2 separate regions of the Homo sapiens genome follow, and region 1 is linked to region 2. The links are contacts of gene promoters, found by promoter capture Hi-C in human tissues and cell types (Jung and others, 2019). All regions are on one chromosome and are shown on one strand. The core of a region is centred on a gene start or on the middle of the fragment in contact, and the rest is flanking DNA. Distances in the headings are between cores, read along the strand shown. Region 1 overlaps MBP (myelin basic protein). Region 2 holds the start of GALR1 (galanin receptor 1).

The links. Contacts are between HindIII fragments. The study calls those that stand out against the background at their distance.
Region 1: a contact is called between a fragment that was not itself captured here and the fragment with the promoter of GALR1 in region 2, in 2 of the 25 tissues and cell types used here (H1 embryonic stem cells and mesendoderm cells).

The regions. Positions count from the first base shown.
Region 1 is chr18:77,059,944-77,066,325 of GRCh38, reverse strand. MBP (myelin basic protein) reads left to right here. Exons shown (of 9, transcript NM_001025101.2): 3 at 1-28. Among named protein-coding and RNA genes, the nearest start is that of MBP, 70 kb to the left of the region's middle. RefSeq lists enhancers at 408-1,607, 3,023-3,112. The HindIII fragment of the contact is 5,976 bases long and covers 1-4,238 here.
Region 2 is chr18:77,247,638-77,254,838 of GRCh38, reverse strand. GALR1 (galanin receptor 1) reads right to left here and starts at 4,991. Exons shown (of 3, transcript NM_001480.4): 1 at 3,625-4,991. The coding sequence starts at 4,290. LOC124904329 (a long non-coding RNA gene) reads left to right here and starts at 3,388. Exons shown (of 2, transcript XR_007066422.1): 1 at 3,388-3,991; 2 at 5,282-7,130. RefSeq lists enhancers at 3,341-4,012, 4,684-5,355. The HindIII fragment of the contact is 7,211 bases long and covers 487-7,201 here.

The DNA.
Region 1 (6,382 bases), core at 1-2,500, 180 kb after region 2:
ACAACCTCAGAGGACAACGAAGTGTTCGGTAGGTGACGCAGATATCGGCAACATGGCGCCACATGGTGACAGCGTGCACCTGCACTCTCACTCGGGGAAGCCTTTGATTTTTTTATTGCATGGGTGATCCATGGATCTGTCTGTACTCATTACTAAAACATAGAGGCTGGGATCATTGCTTCATGTCTGTAATCGCACACTTCATGGGGTCTATGCAAGAGGATCGCTTGAGCCCAGGAGCTCAAGACCAGCCCGGGCAACACAATGAGACCTCGTCTCTACAAAAAATAAAATAAATAAATTAGCCAGGTGTGGTGGCATGCACCCGTGGCCCCAGATACTTGGGAGGCTGAAGTGAGAGGATCACTTGGGCCCAGGAGGTCGAGGCTGCAGTGAGCTATGATTGCTCCACTGCACTCCAGGCTGGGCAACAGAGCAAGACGCTGTCTAAAAAAAATTAAAATGTCGGCTGTGTAGATACGTGGCAGATACAGCCCCTTCCTCCCCTCCTGCAATCCCTTCCCATCTCGGTTTTGTTTTTGCTCGCATGCCTTGTTGCACACATAGACATTCAGCATTTCCCAGGCTCACTGTATGGTGTTTCTCTGATCGTCTGTTTGTCCAGCCCTGTGTGAGCATCGGGAAGCCTAGCAGTGTTTGTAAAAAATAGCTAATGAGGAAATGAAATTGCACCAAAGCCTGGATACCACGGTGTTTATCTTAACCACAAAGAGTGACTCAGAAGGCATTGGGAAATAACTGTTGTCTTCAGAATTTTACTTTTTTGTATTGCCTTATTGAATATAAATTGCCTTTACATATTTTTGTGGATTGAATGTGTCCCCTACATTTCGTGTGTTGGAAGCTTAACCCCCTAAATTTCTATGTTAATTGGACGTGGGGCCTTTGGGATGTAACTAGGAGCAGAGACCTAGTCATCAGGTCATTGGGGTGGGGCCCCTGATGAGACCAGTGGCTTTGTAAGGAGAGGAAGAGAGGCCTGAGCCAACTCTTAATCTGTGTCACCATGCGATGCCACCCACCACGTCATGGCACACTCACCAGAAGCTGAGCAGATGCCAGTGCCATGCCCTGGGACTTTCCAGCCTCAAGAACTGTAAGGAATAAATTTATTTTCTTTATAAATTATCCAGTCTCAGGTATTCAGTTATAGCAATAGAAAATGAACCAAGATATAATCTTAGCATTCATCTTTGTTTCTGCTTCCCCTATGAGTGACTGACCATGTTCTCATTTGAGGTTTACATTAATGAGGTTGGATCCACTCGTCCCATCATGACACTGAGGCTCAGTGACTTGCCCAAGACCACAGGGCTATGCAGGTCCTCAAAGCAGTTCTATTCTGCTGTGCACAGCTCTTTGATTTTCTTCATCTATTCCTAAAGCAAAGAGGAAAAGGGGTGGAATGAAATGTGCTCAGATCCTGAGAACTCACTATAGGTCGAAGGAAAAAGGAGTGATTTTGTGGCTACTAAAATACGCATCCCTTTCCCCAAGATCAGGCCACCCTGTAGGTTACAGACAACATTCAAGGCAAACAGGCTTCCTGGCCACATTCCCTAGCATGATCTTTGCTTATTTATGGAAAGGCCTTTCTTTATATTTCAGCTGTTAGACAAGATAATTTATGCCGATTTTTTTTGTTCGTGATTAACTTGCTCTTTTTCAAAAGTCCTTTCTTTTCTACAATTCCATCCTTCTTGAGCAAACACACATAAAACAGATTTAGTGCTACCGACTGTTTCAATATCTTAAGCGTCCATGAAAATCAACATAACTCAAAGGCCCAGAGACTGAAAGCAATGAGGACTCCTTTACTAGAAAGGAGATAGGCAAGTGCAAAAGGGACTCAGTGCTCTGCTGATTTCTGCATACTTTATTATGCTCTTTATAGGAATTTTCTTGGAGGCATGTCTGAGCATAACTCACCGCCTTCAGGTACTGGGGTTTCCATCCTCAGTGGCAGAGGAAGAAGAGGAAGGAGTTGAAGGCAGCCGCGTCCATGACTAGGAGCAGCAGCGTGCACTCTGGAGAACACTTAGGGTTTCGTAGAATAGACAATCTATGAGTTTGAATGGGATGTCCCAGCCTTGATGGTTTTAAGAATAAATCTGCCTATAAAACTCTAGAATAAAAATTCATTTAGATGATCTCTTTACTCATACATTTCAGCTACATATATAAAGACGTAATAGAAAAGCACGAAGACAAATGTCCAAATTTAGGTTTTACACATAAATAAAAGTGAGTTCTAGAATGATTTTGGCTAAGCCTACTGTTTTTTTAAGCAAACATCATCTTTATCATTATTCCCCTAGCTAATTGCTTTTGAGATTATTCGTAACGATGGCAGCGGTTCTGTTACCATCAAATACACACATACACACACACACACACACACACACACATATGTATAGGTATATATACAGCATGGATACAATATAACATAAAAAGGTCTTCTATACTTAGCCCTTTCCTTACGCTATCAAGATGATATCATTCCTGAAGCCCTTCCAAACGCAGCCCTCCTTAATCTTTTCCAAGAGATACTGAGTTTAGAGAGTTATTACCTAGGATTGAATGTGAAAACTACTGGAAATGATGGAAATGCAGAATATTTCCATCATTTCACAAACGTGGGTTGTGTTTTGATAGGAAGAGCAATACTTCTGCCTGTTGTGTTTACTGAGGTGTTCCCAGGTCCTTGGACACCGGAGCAAGGCTCGCATATCTGCCGAATGAACTTAGCTCCCACATTCCAAGCCTTTCTGCCCGTGAGTGTGCCGAGGAAGCAGTTCTCAAGAGTCACCTTCAGGCCTTTGCAGCTGATGCCTGATTCAGGTTGAGTCAAAACCAAGGGGGAAGTGGGAGGAGCTTGTGGTCCAGGCATCCTCATTTCATCCACCCTAGGGGAGGCTGGCCCAGGAGGCCTCTGCACGCATTATTTAGCAGCAACAATCCCAAGTGATGCCGACCTGGAAGGGCCTGTTGAACTGTGGGGCTTTTGCTATTGACCTTAATAATTTCCCATGCCTGACCCTTTCCTGGGGCACACAGAACTCTACTCTAAAGGCGCAGAGTGCTGAAGGAAAAGAAACTAAAATAATCTTGGCTATTAGTCTTGGCTGTATAACCTTGGAGGCATATATGCAATTTCTTTTAAAATTGTAATGTATAAAGTGACTCTAAATGAGAGCAGCAGCTCCCACCTACTTTAGGAAAAGGTCTTTCCTTGACATGATAGTAAATCCCATCAGTACGTTGGGAAACCATTCCTGATGTCCCGTGAGCACAAGTCACCGTGATCGTGTGATGGTCATCTCTAGGTTCTTGGCAGCCGTTTCATCCACGCATCAGAAGAATGAGCGAGGAATGTGAGAAATGGGCAGAAAGCCATCATCCTTAGCTAACCACTCTGCAGGACACGCATACCTAAGATCTCTGTGAACGTCGAAAGGCAATAGTGTTGTATTTCAGCTGATAAGAGAGTCCCCGAGTTAAGACTGATTGGCGCATTGAGAAGTTTGTGCCAGGTGCTGACTCTGGCACAGGTGCTATTGCTATGGTTCACACATTGAGTGCTCAAAACCACAAACAGACAACTAAAACCACGCAGCCTTCCTCCTCGTCTCTGTGAAGGCCAAAGCCAGTCATTCTCTTAGCAATCCACTTTGAAGTTTTATTTGCCCTTCATGTTCTGGTAAAAATCTCACCAAAGGATTGTTTTCAATCTAAGTAAATAACTCGTTAGAGCACACTTTCAAATATCTTCTGTGATTTGTTTTTTTTTTTTCGACAGCTTTCTGGTTATGCTTAAGACTGTTTTGCCTAGTTACAAAAGGAGGAAGAAAACACTCTAAGGCACGACAACCTAGAGAACTGGGCGTTGTCCAAGCTTTGGGGAAGCAGGCCATTTTTCAGTAGACCAGTTGCTGCTAAGCGTTTTCTGACCCACACACCCACAGGTAGTGCACACACTGTCCTCCTCCTTAGAAACCAGGCGGGAAGGAAGGCAGGAGTCAGTCTCCACCTCTTCTCCCGCCAGAGTTGACTAATCGTGGGGCTAAACTAAAGGCAGGCAATTCAGTTGAGGTGAGCGAAGTCTTAGGTCTCCCTAAATTATACTAAGGGAGGAGAGGAGTGGCCAAAAGAGGGCACTACTGCCCCGGTGACTGACTGTGGTTCCTCTCAGCCAGGACAGGCATCTCAAAGACAGGGCTGGAGGGATGTGGACTCCGTGTCATGTGTAAGCTAGTTCACTCCACATGTGCCACAGAGGATGGATGTCCTACCGTGAAAACGTCACCAGCCCGCGTCTGTGTTCACTGCGTCCACTTCACAGGGCCAAGTCCTGTGTGCACAGCATGTAAGGGCAAACCCCCATGAAGAGTCATGAGGAAAACATTCACAACTTCATTGCTCAGACAATGGAGATAGAAATATCTGTGTTTAATGTTTATTTAAAAAGTATTCATCCCAGAAACATTTAAGTACATATATTGGTGTGTGCGTGTTTTCACTCTTCTTTATTTTATAAAGCTTGAGTTAGCTGACAGTAGGAAAAAACACCAGGAAACAGTAAAATGTAAATAAAATTGAGAAGTCTAGATGAAGTGAAGGAAGACCACAAACACATCAACCATGTGACAATGGCTGCAGGGAGCCGCCCGTTTCACTCTGAGCTGCCCAGCTGCCCAAGTGGAAGGGGACCCCGGCCAGCCTGAAGTCTCTCATTTTACACAGCAGGTGGTAGAGCCCTACCACCTTTTAGCTGTGTGCTTTTAGCAATGAACTCCTCTGTTTGTGTCTTGGTTTCCCCATACGTAAGTAGGGGTAATCATAAAATGACCTGTGAGTAAGAAACAACACATGTGCACGTGTGGGACTCTCCCATCTCCTCACAGTACTCAGTAAACATTGGCTAGTATTTTCAGAGAGAAGACTGCAGACATTTTTTGAAGCATACAGAGCTTTGTTTAACAAATACTAAGAATTTTTCCTGCTTAAATTTTTATCACAGACAAAGAGTCACATGGTAGTCAACGACCTCAAGGTATTTTTATAGCACATGTGGAGATTAGTTTTGTATAGTTATTTATTGTAATAGAATTCAGTAAGGGCCAGTGGTGCAACATGAATCTTCCGCATTGCAAGCCAAGAGCCTATGATCCCTGTGTCTAGCCATCAGAGGACCTGCTATGATCCACAGACAGAATTACAAGAACTTGGGGTCCCTTCCCAGAGCCAGGACTTTGATAGGCATTTCATAGCACAAAGTTCCAGGTCCCAGGCTCTGAGAAAGGCCCAGGAGGAGTTCTGAGCGGCTGGTTGCTGAGGCACTGCGTGCCTGTGTTCCATTGAGGGTCAGCGGCAGCCTCAAGAGAAGACAGACTCCACCTGGGAAACAGGCAGGTGTGACCATTGGCTCTGCCATCAACTCTCAATGCAACTGGGGGTGCGACTTCATCTCTCTGTGCCTGTTTCCTCCTCCAGAAAACAGGGTTTCCTATTGACCCTCAAGAATTGTTGCAAGGGCCCATTGAGAGAACAATTTGGCCGGGTATGATGGCTCATGCCTATAATCCCAGCACTTTGGGAGGCTGAGGCAGGTGGATCACCTGAGGCCAGGAGTTCGAGACCAGCCTGACCAACACGGGGAAACCACATCTCTACCAAAAAATACAAAATTAGCTGGATGTAGTAGTGCACACCTGTAATCCTGGCTACTTGGAAGGCTGAGGCAGAATTCCTTGAACCCAGGAGGCAGAGGTTGCAGTGAGCTGAGATCACACCACTGCACTCCAGCCTGGGCAACAAGAGCAAAACTCCGCCTCATAAAAAAAAAAAAAAAAAAAAGGAGAGAGAGAGAAAACAGTTATACTCCATTACAGGATGCTTTAACATCTCTACTGCTTGAAGCCACGTTCATACAGTGAATAATGAGTGCTGCCGTTCATTAGCATTTTTCATGTGCCTCTGAGGACCTGGGTCACATCTGCCATAAACACTCATTCATCATTGGTACTAGGATGTCCTGCCTATGTGCTTTCTCCATTCATTTATTAAATCATTTTTGAGCACCTCCAATGTGCCGTGCCATATACTGGAGGTGGAAGAGAGAGGGCAGGAGGTTAGAGAAAACAAAATAGAGAAATGGCGGGGCCAGCCATTCTGGGGACTTCACACCATTTGGGGGATGGTTTAACATAGAAGGACATGGAACGAGGGCCTCAGCCTCCCAAAGTGCTGGATTACAGGCATGAGCCACCACGCCCAGCCCATAATTTGCTATCTTATTGCCACAAAGAGTCTATTCCGTCTTGCCTGGAGGGCTAGGGCCTTTATTTTTACTTTACATCAC
Region 2 (7,201 bases), core at 3,742-6,241:
AAGTGTTTACGTGCCGCAGGAGCATTTGGGAAAACACTCAATACATTGACAAGGTGTTAGTTTACTGTTCTACCAGCCGAAATGGGAGTATCAAAACCTGAATGCAAGGCAACGACAGAACAGGGATTTCCTGCAGGAGCAAATGAGAGCGTTTCAAAGGGGAAGGAAAGGGCTGGAGGAGGCAGGACCCTGCCCAAGAGGACAGGACTGCCTAGATGGCTCAGTGGCAGCCTTCCCAATGGGAAACCACAGGACAACACTGGTCACTGAGGACACAGGAGAGACAACAGGAGAGGCCGCACAAGCAAAATCAAAGAGGGACACCTGGACAAATCACAACAAAATGTCCAAATGTGACCAGCTTCATAACGCTGCCGAGCTCCAATTGTTCCTTCCAAAAAGGAATTCGGATCACAGCTCAGCCACTTCAAAACACCCAAGAATGTTGAATGCTGTTAAATGGTCAATGGAGAAAATACTCAAGTCTATTTTTATTAGCTCTGCTTCTCTTCAATAGCTCCTACTATGAGCACAGAATGATATATTATGATGCACCCCACTGAAGGTCTCAGCAGCAAAGGAGGAAGAATGTAGGTACCATGATAGGGTATGACGACGTTTAAGAAGAGAGTGATAATAACATACTGGGGTCTCTTGGTGAGTCTGTAAATTTCTGAGTGTGCACAGGAAGGTGCTAGCTCAAACCAAACCCAGGTCCTGCTGGCTACATCCTGGGGATTCGGAGTAACTTAGTCGAGTGGGCCCATTGAGTTTATCCTCATGGTAGACCAAGGAGATTCTGGACAGTAATTCACTCTAAGGGAAGTGAGCGAGGGGCACAGACCTGGTGAAGAACAGCTCCATAGCAGCAGAGGGGAGGGCTCTTCAGGGGGCACTGGGCAGACCACTTCGACTCATCCTCCCACCCATGTATTCGATGAGTTTCCCAGAAACTGTCTGGTGCAAAAGACTGCTCCCTTACAAACTTGTGAGAATTTGGAGGCAAAAGGCAACTCTGGAATGCAATTGTCTTAAGTTTTTTTGTTTATTTAAAGCATCATAACCTCAGGTTCCCTTTTAGCCATCTGTGTTTTTTCAGGCTATCCAAAAGGCCTGGGGTTTGGAGGAACAGCTAATCCTGAAACTAATACTCAAGTAGCAAAATCCTTAACTGGATGGTGCACACCTAATGCCTGAGCCAAAGAAAATCAACTTGAAATAACTGAAATCTCCACCTATCCATGACAGCCCTGAAATTAACTTGCAAATATTATGAATATTATGCTGAATTCAATTTACTCCTAAAATCTTACTTTGTCATTTCCAGTAAGAAGATTTTAGCTCTTCTCCCTGAAGGCTTTGGGGAAATAAGGAAGCGTGTGCTTCAGTTCTCCACAGTAATTAGGAACTTAACAGCCATATATGTTAAGAATCTCAATCTCAGACTTCAATGTCCTCAAGGCCTCACCAACTGTCCCGTCCTCAGAAGACTGGGAATCCCTGTGTTAAAATCCTTCCAGAATCATTCACCAGCTTCATAATCTGGGTCAGGTGTTCCTTTCCAAAGCTCTTTTTCCTTAAATAATAAAATACGGGTAAATAATAAAATAGCTCCAAGCCACAGAGTTGTGCAAATTAAATGAGATGGTGCACATATCAGATAATTGTGCTATGTAAGATAGCCTTTGTTTAGCATCTGCGGAAGACCACGTTAATAAACCAGCCATTTTCCAAATAGCTAAGCTAGAGTTCTTTTCCAAATTCCCTTACTGCTACTATATTGGTGGTGGTGGTGGTGGTGGTGATGGTGGTGATGGTGGTGGTGGTGGTGGTGGTGGTGGTGGTGGTGATGGTGGTGATGGTGGTGATGGTGGTGGTGATGGTGGTGATGGTGGTGGTGGTGGTGGTGGTGGTGATGGTGGTGGTGGTGGTGGTGGTGGTGATGGTGGTGGTGGTGATGGTGGTGGTGGTGGTGGTGGTGGTGTTTTGAGACAGAGTCTCGCTCCGTTGTCAGCCAGGCTAGAGTTCAGTGGCACGATTTCGGCTCACTGCACCCTCCGTCACTTGGGTTCAAACAATTCTTCTGTCTCAGCCTCCGGAGTAGCTGGGACTACAGGGGCCCGCCACCACACCCAGCTAATATTTGTATTTTTAGTAGAGACGGGGTTTCACCCTGTTGGTCAGGCTGGTCTCGAATTCCCGACCTCAGGTGATCCACCCACCTCGGCCTCCCAAAGTGGTACTGTATTTCTTCATATTTAACCTTTTGGTGCAGGCCGTTCAGATAATATCCAGCAATATTATTATTCAAAATAGACACAATCTACCTAGATGAAATAGGTGGGGGGAAACAGGTGGCTTATAGTAAACACTTTTGTTGATAAAAATACCTTGTGACTTGAGTATTAAAAGTGATAGTTGTTCTACCTAGTCAGGTTATTTGTGGTCGTATAGTCACAGCCTTATTGAAACAGAATGAGAGACAGCGGTGAAGTCGGGTGGAACTGGTAACAGCTGTATTTCAAATGGCGATGCTCTGGAGCGAGGAGGTTGCGCACATTAGGGTTTACCCGGTGAATCGCCATCACCTGATTATTAAAATAAGCTCCCGTTTACGCAAATAAAAACACGTATGTCAAAGGCTGAAGACGTTTTGATCAGTATAAAGTCTTCAAACCCTTGTGGACTTAATGAGAAAAAGAATGTGAGTGCTGAGCTCTGCCCGGCTGTACAAAGGGAAAAACTATCTCCCACACGCGTGGACGGTGCCTCTGCTACAGTTAGGGTGAAGACCCGCCGCCTCAACCACTTCACCCTGTTCAGGAGACCTTTCTAAAAAGGATTGAAATGGGGAAGCCGAAAGCTCGAGTCCATTCCATTCCAAGTTCCTGGAGCCTGCGGTCAAGACTCTGTAAAGAAACACCCTTTTGCACTTGGGTTTACAAAGCTAAGCTTCAGAATAAAATAAAATTCGAGGCTCTGTCCCCGGGAGCAGCGGCTTCACAGAGCCCGGTGTGCGCAAAGCCTTCGGAGCGAGGGCAAACTGCGCACCCCGGGGGAGAGGGGCCGCCCCGCGAGTCCCCCCCGCCACGGCCAGCTGAGAGCCCGGGAGGGAGCTGTGGGGACCCGTCACCCTCGCAAAAGGTCCGCGCTCTGGTGACCACCAGAGCTCTCCTCAGGTCCCACAGCGCCGCGGCGGTAACCTCCCCGCGCAGCTGATCTGGTTGAAGAGTTGCTGGAACCGAGCGGGGTTTGCTGTACCGGGAAGGATGCGGCAGCGCCCGCCTACCTACCGCCCAGGCAACCTGGGGGCGTTGAAGGGCCGCAGGGCCGAGGAAGGGGAGGGGAGGAGAAACTGGTTCTACTGGACCATGCGAAGTGAACTGCAAACTTTCCCCAGCATCTCTCAGACTCCAAGTAACTTTCTTGCGCAAGCCAATGGCACGCTCCAGCAGCGGCCAGGAAGCCTCTCTGCACAGATCCGTACCAGCGCCGCCAGAGTGGGGACCACCGGGGCCAGGCTGCCGCCAAGGCTCCGGCAGGGCCGCGGGACACTGAGACCCCAGGGCCCCCACCGGCCCTCCGCCCTCCCTCGCGCGTCTCGGCCCCGCGACCGGCGTGCACCTTGGCATAGCAGAAGCAGATGAGCAGGAGCGGCAGCAGGTAGCCGAAGACGAAGGTGCACACCACGTAGGCCTTCTTGTGGCGAGGGTCGGGCCACTGCTCCCAGCAGAAGGTCTGGTTGCTGGCGCGCGGGTGGAAGAGGCCCTGGTGGTAGGCCACGGGCGAGGCCATGGCAATGGACAGCGCCCAGATGCAGCCCACGCCCAGCAGCGCGTTGCGGGACACCCTGAGGGAGGAGGAGCGCCGCGAGTGCACGATGGCCACGTAGCGGTCCACGGACATCGCGGCCAGGGTGAAGATGCTCACCAGCATGGACACGGTGAAGAAGTAGTGGATGAACTTGCAGATGAAGGCGCCCAGCACCCAGGTGGGCAGCGCGTACACGGTGGCCTGGAAGGGGATGCAGAAGAGCAGGTAGGCCAGGTCGGCGATGCTCAGGTTGAGGATGAACAGGTTGGTGGTGCTCCGCGGCTTGCCCGGCTTGCTGCGCGCCAGCACGGTGATCACTAGGCTGTTGCCCAGCACACCCAGCGCGAAGATCAGGCCGAACACCACCAGCGTGACGAAGTTCTCCACGCCGATGCCGAACAGCGGCCCGGGCTCCGGGGCGGGGGGCTCCGGCCAGCTCGCGTTGCCCTCGCTGAGGTTCCCGACCGCCAGCTCCATGGCCCGCGGGGCTGTCCCGGCGAGCGGCGGGGCGCGCGGGGAGGGAGGGCGGGATAGTAGGCGCCGGGGGTGGCCAGGGGTCCCGGCGCAAAGCACGGAGAGTGCGAGTTTAGGAGTCTGAGCTTCCCCCGAGGCGCGAGCCAGCGGGAGCGGGGATCCGGTGGCCGTGCCTGGTGGCACCGTCTTTGCGCCGGGACCTTCTGAGAGAGGGTGGGTTCGGGAGCCCGGAGCTGGACCTTCTCGGGAAGGGACGGTGATCTCGAGAGCACTGGGGTCCCCTTCCCGGGCGCCTCCGCCCGCTGCGCGACCACGGAGCCTGGGAAGAGGGATCCGCCGGCTGCAGCCGCGCAGGTGGAAAGACCCTTCTCTCCGCCTTACCGCTCCAGATCTTCGCCGGCGGTTTTCCCTGGCTCCCGGAGGGGCTGCGTGCTGCACCTGTTGCTCGGAGCCGCTCCTTCCCGCGGCGCTTCCCCGCACTGCCCAGCGCGCAGCAGTGCACTGTGCGGCTCCTGCAGAGAAGGCTCCCCGCGCATCCCGCGCGCCCAGCGCCACCTCCCCAGTGGGCTGGCGCCTCCGACTCCCTCCCGGCTTTTCCAGGGATTCCGAGTCGTCCACAGGGCGAGAGCTCTTTTGGGAGGCTTCCTGGTGGTGGATAGAGTCGGGTGCCAGGGGCTTCTCTGCTGCAACTGAGAGGCGAAAACAGCTCGGCTGAAATCCGCGCCCCTTAGAAGTCACGGTGCGCGAGCAGAGACTGGACGGATTCTAGCGGGATGGGTCGCCGCCCACCTCCCGGCTGGAACCGGAGCGCGCTCGCCTCTGCGGAGTGCGGACCTGCCCGGCGGGCTGAAGGCGGGGCTGCCGGATGCCGCGGGCCAGGCGGGCGAGGGAAGCCGGGCGCGCTCCAGGGCGTTCCAGGGCGCGCCGGGGTGGGAGGCGGAGGGGTGCGCGGGCCTCCTCATCCATTAGTGCCTTTCCTCCTCCTCCTCCCCAGGGTGGCTGTCCGTGAGAACGCCTCTCTCCCAGGAATAACCCCAGGAAATCGAGGCTGGCGACGCTCCCTGGAGTTTTGTAAAATTGGCCGCCTAATCCCACCCTCACCCCGCGGCCTGCTACAGAGGAGAGAAGTGCAAAGGGAAAGGGCCGCGTGAGCTTCTCTATAGACGTGGCTGACATGGAAGGGGAAGGCTGTTCACACCACCCAACCTCACTTCATTTTTGCCTTGTATTACTCATCTGAGGGACATAAACTGCAGCAGTGACAAACGAAATATTTTTAAAGTGAAAGAAAGTGTTTAGTATCTTACTGCCGTAAATGTGGATTTGCCAGAAAGAAATTAAGCCGTTTCGGTATAGCAGGGCCAGTCACGTTAGCTTTGTAACCTTGGTGGTTCCCAGCTAGAGAGCTGACACTGATTCCTTTATTTGCGGTGATTTGTCTGTTTTCACTTTCAAAAACACCGATGCGTTTCCAGCATTCACCATCTGGTGACTGTCCATTATGCGCGGACGCAGTGCCTGAGGGGATGGGTAATCCAAAGACCAAAGAGGGCAGGGGCTCTTTGCCTTGAGGAGTTAAGGAAGTAGGATCTTGTTTTTCTACCTTGCTAGCTCTGTTCTGCCTCATTTCCAGATAAATCTTGATGCAGTTCATTGAACATCTATGTATTTTATCTACATTCATTGCTAGGGAGTTCCTTGCAAGGGAATTGTTCTATTCACACACATTTTCTGGAAGACAAAATTGAGTGTAAGCAACTTGCCTATTTGGGTATCCTGCTAAAGCCAAGAATGCTCTTACCTGCCCCGACCTGAGAGAATGCCTTGAAACTTCCTCAGGTGATCTTGCCAATCCGTATTGCTTTTCTTCCCTGAGACGCTCTCCGACCCAGGCTTTCAAAGTATCATGTTGTATTTGACAGCTCTGTTGCATTGAAAGTTAGTAGTAATATGATTTGGGAGAGTTTTTAAATTATGAACTATTTTCACATGAAACAGATATGATAAAATTACATTGAATACCAATGCACCCACCATCTAGCTTAGAATAATTTTTAAATATTATCACTAGAGTTGAAGTCACTTTTATATATTTTCCAGTCACAACCTCCACCTCTCCCACTATCTCCAAGTAACCTAAATTTGTTGTCTATTAGTCATTTCTTTATACATTTTTGGCATACGCATATGATCTTAATATATTGTGGTGATTTTTTTTTTTTTTTTTTTTTTTTTTGCTTTAACATTATGTGGTTGGTATTATGGTACATGTTTTGTTTGTTTTTGCCTTAAAGTATAATTTGTCTGTTATTGCTATAAGTACAACAACATTCTTTGCTTTGTATTTGCCTGTTACATCTTTTACAGCCTTCCTATGTTATGTCCTGCAATTTAAAGGTATCTCTTTAATATAGCACATAACTGAATTATTTTAAAACACAATTTTAAAATCTCTAGTTTTTAACTGGTGAGTTTAGGTCATTTATATTTATTGTTATTACTAACCTATATGGATTTATTTTTAACATTTTATTTTGTACTTTTTATTTGTTTTCTATTTCTGTGCTTTTTCTCTCTCTCTCTCTCTCTCTTTTCATGACATCTTTTGAATTGCATTTTAAAGTGTTTTCTCCCTCCCTCCACATTCTTGGAAAAGGAAGAAATATAGTGTATATTTATTGTTTTACTGGTTACCCTTGAGTGCCTACTATGTGCCAGGAACTATTGTAGGTTCTGGAGATAGAGCAATTAACACAACAAAGTACTTTCTTTTATGGATTTTACATTTCATTATGGACACGACATTTAAAAATAAATAAAATGATAATGTCACATGTGGTAAACACTACTGATATACTTTAGATATCTGTCCTCGCCAAATCTCTTATTGAATTATAATCCCTAATGTTGGAGG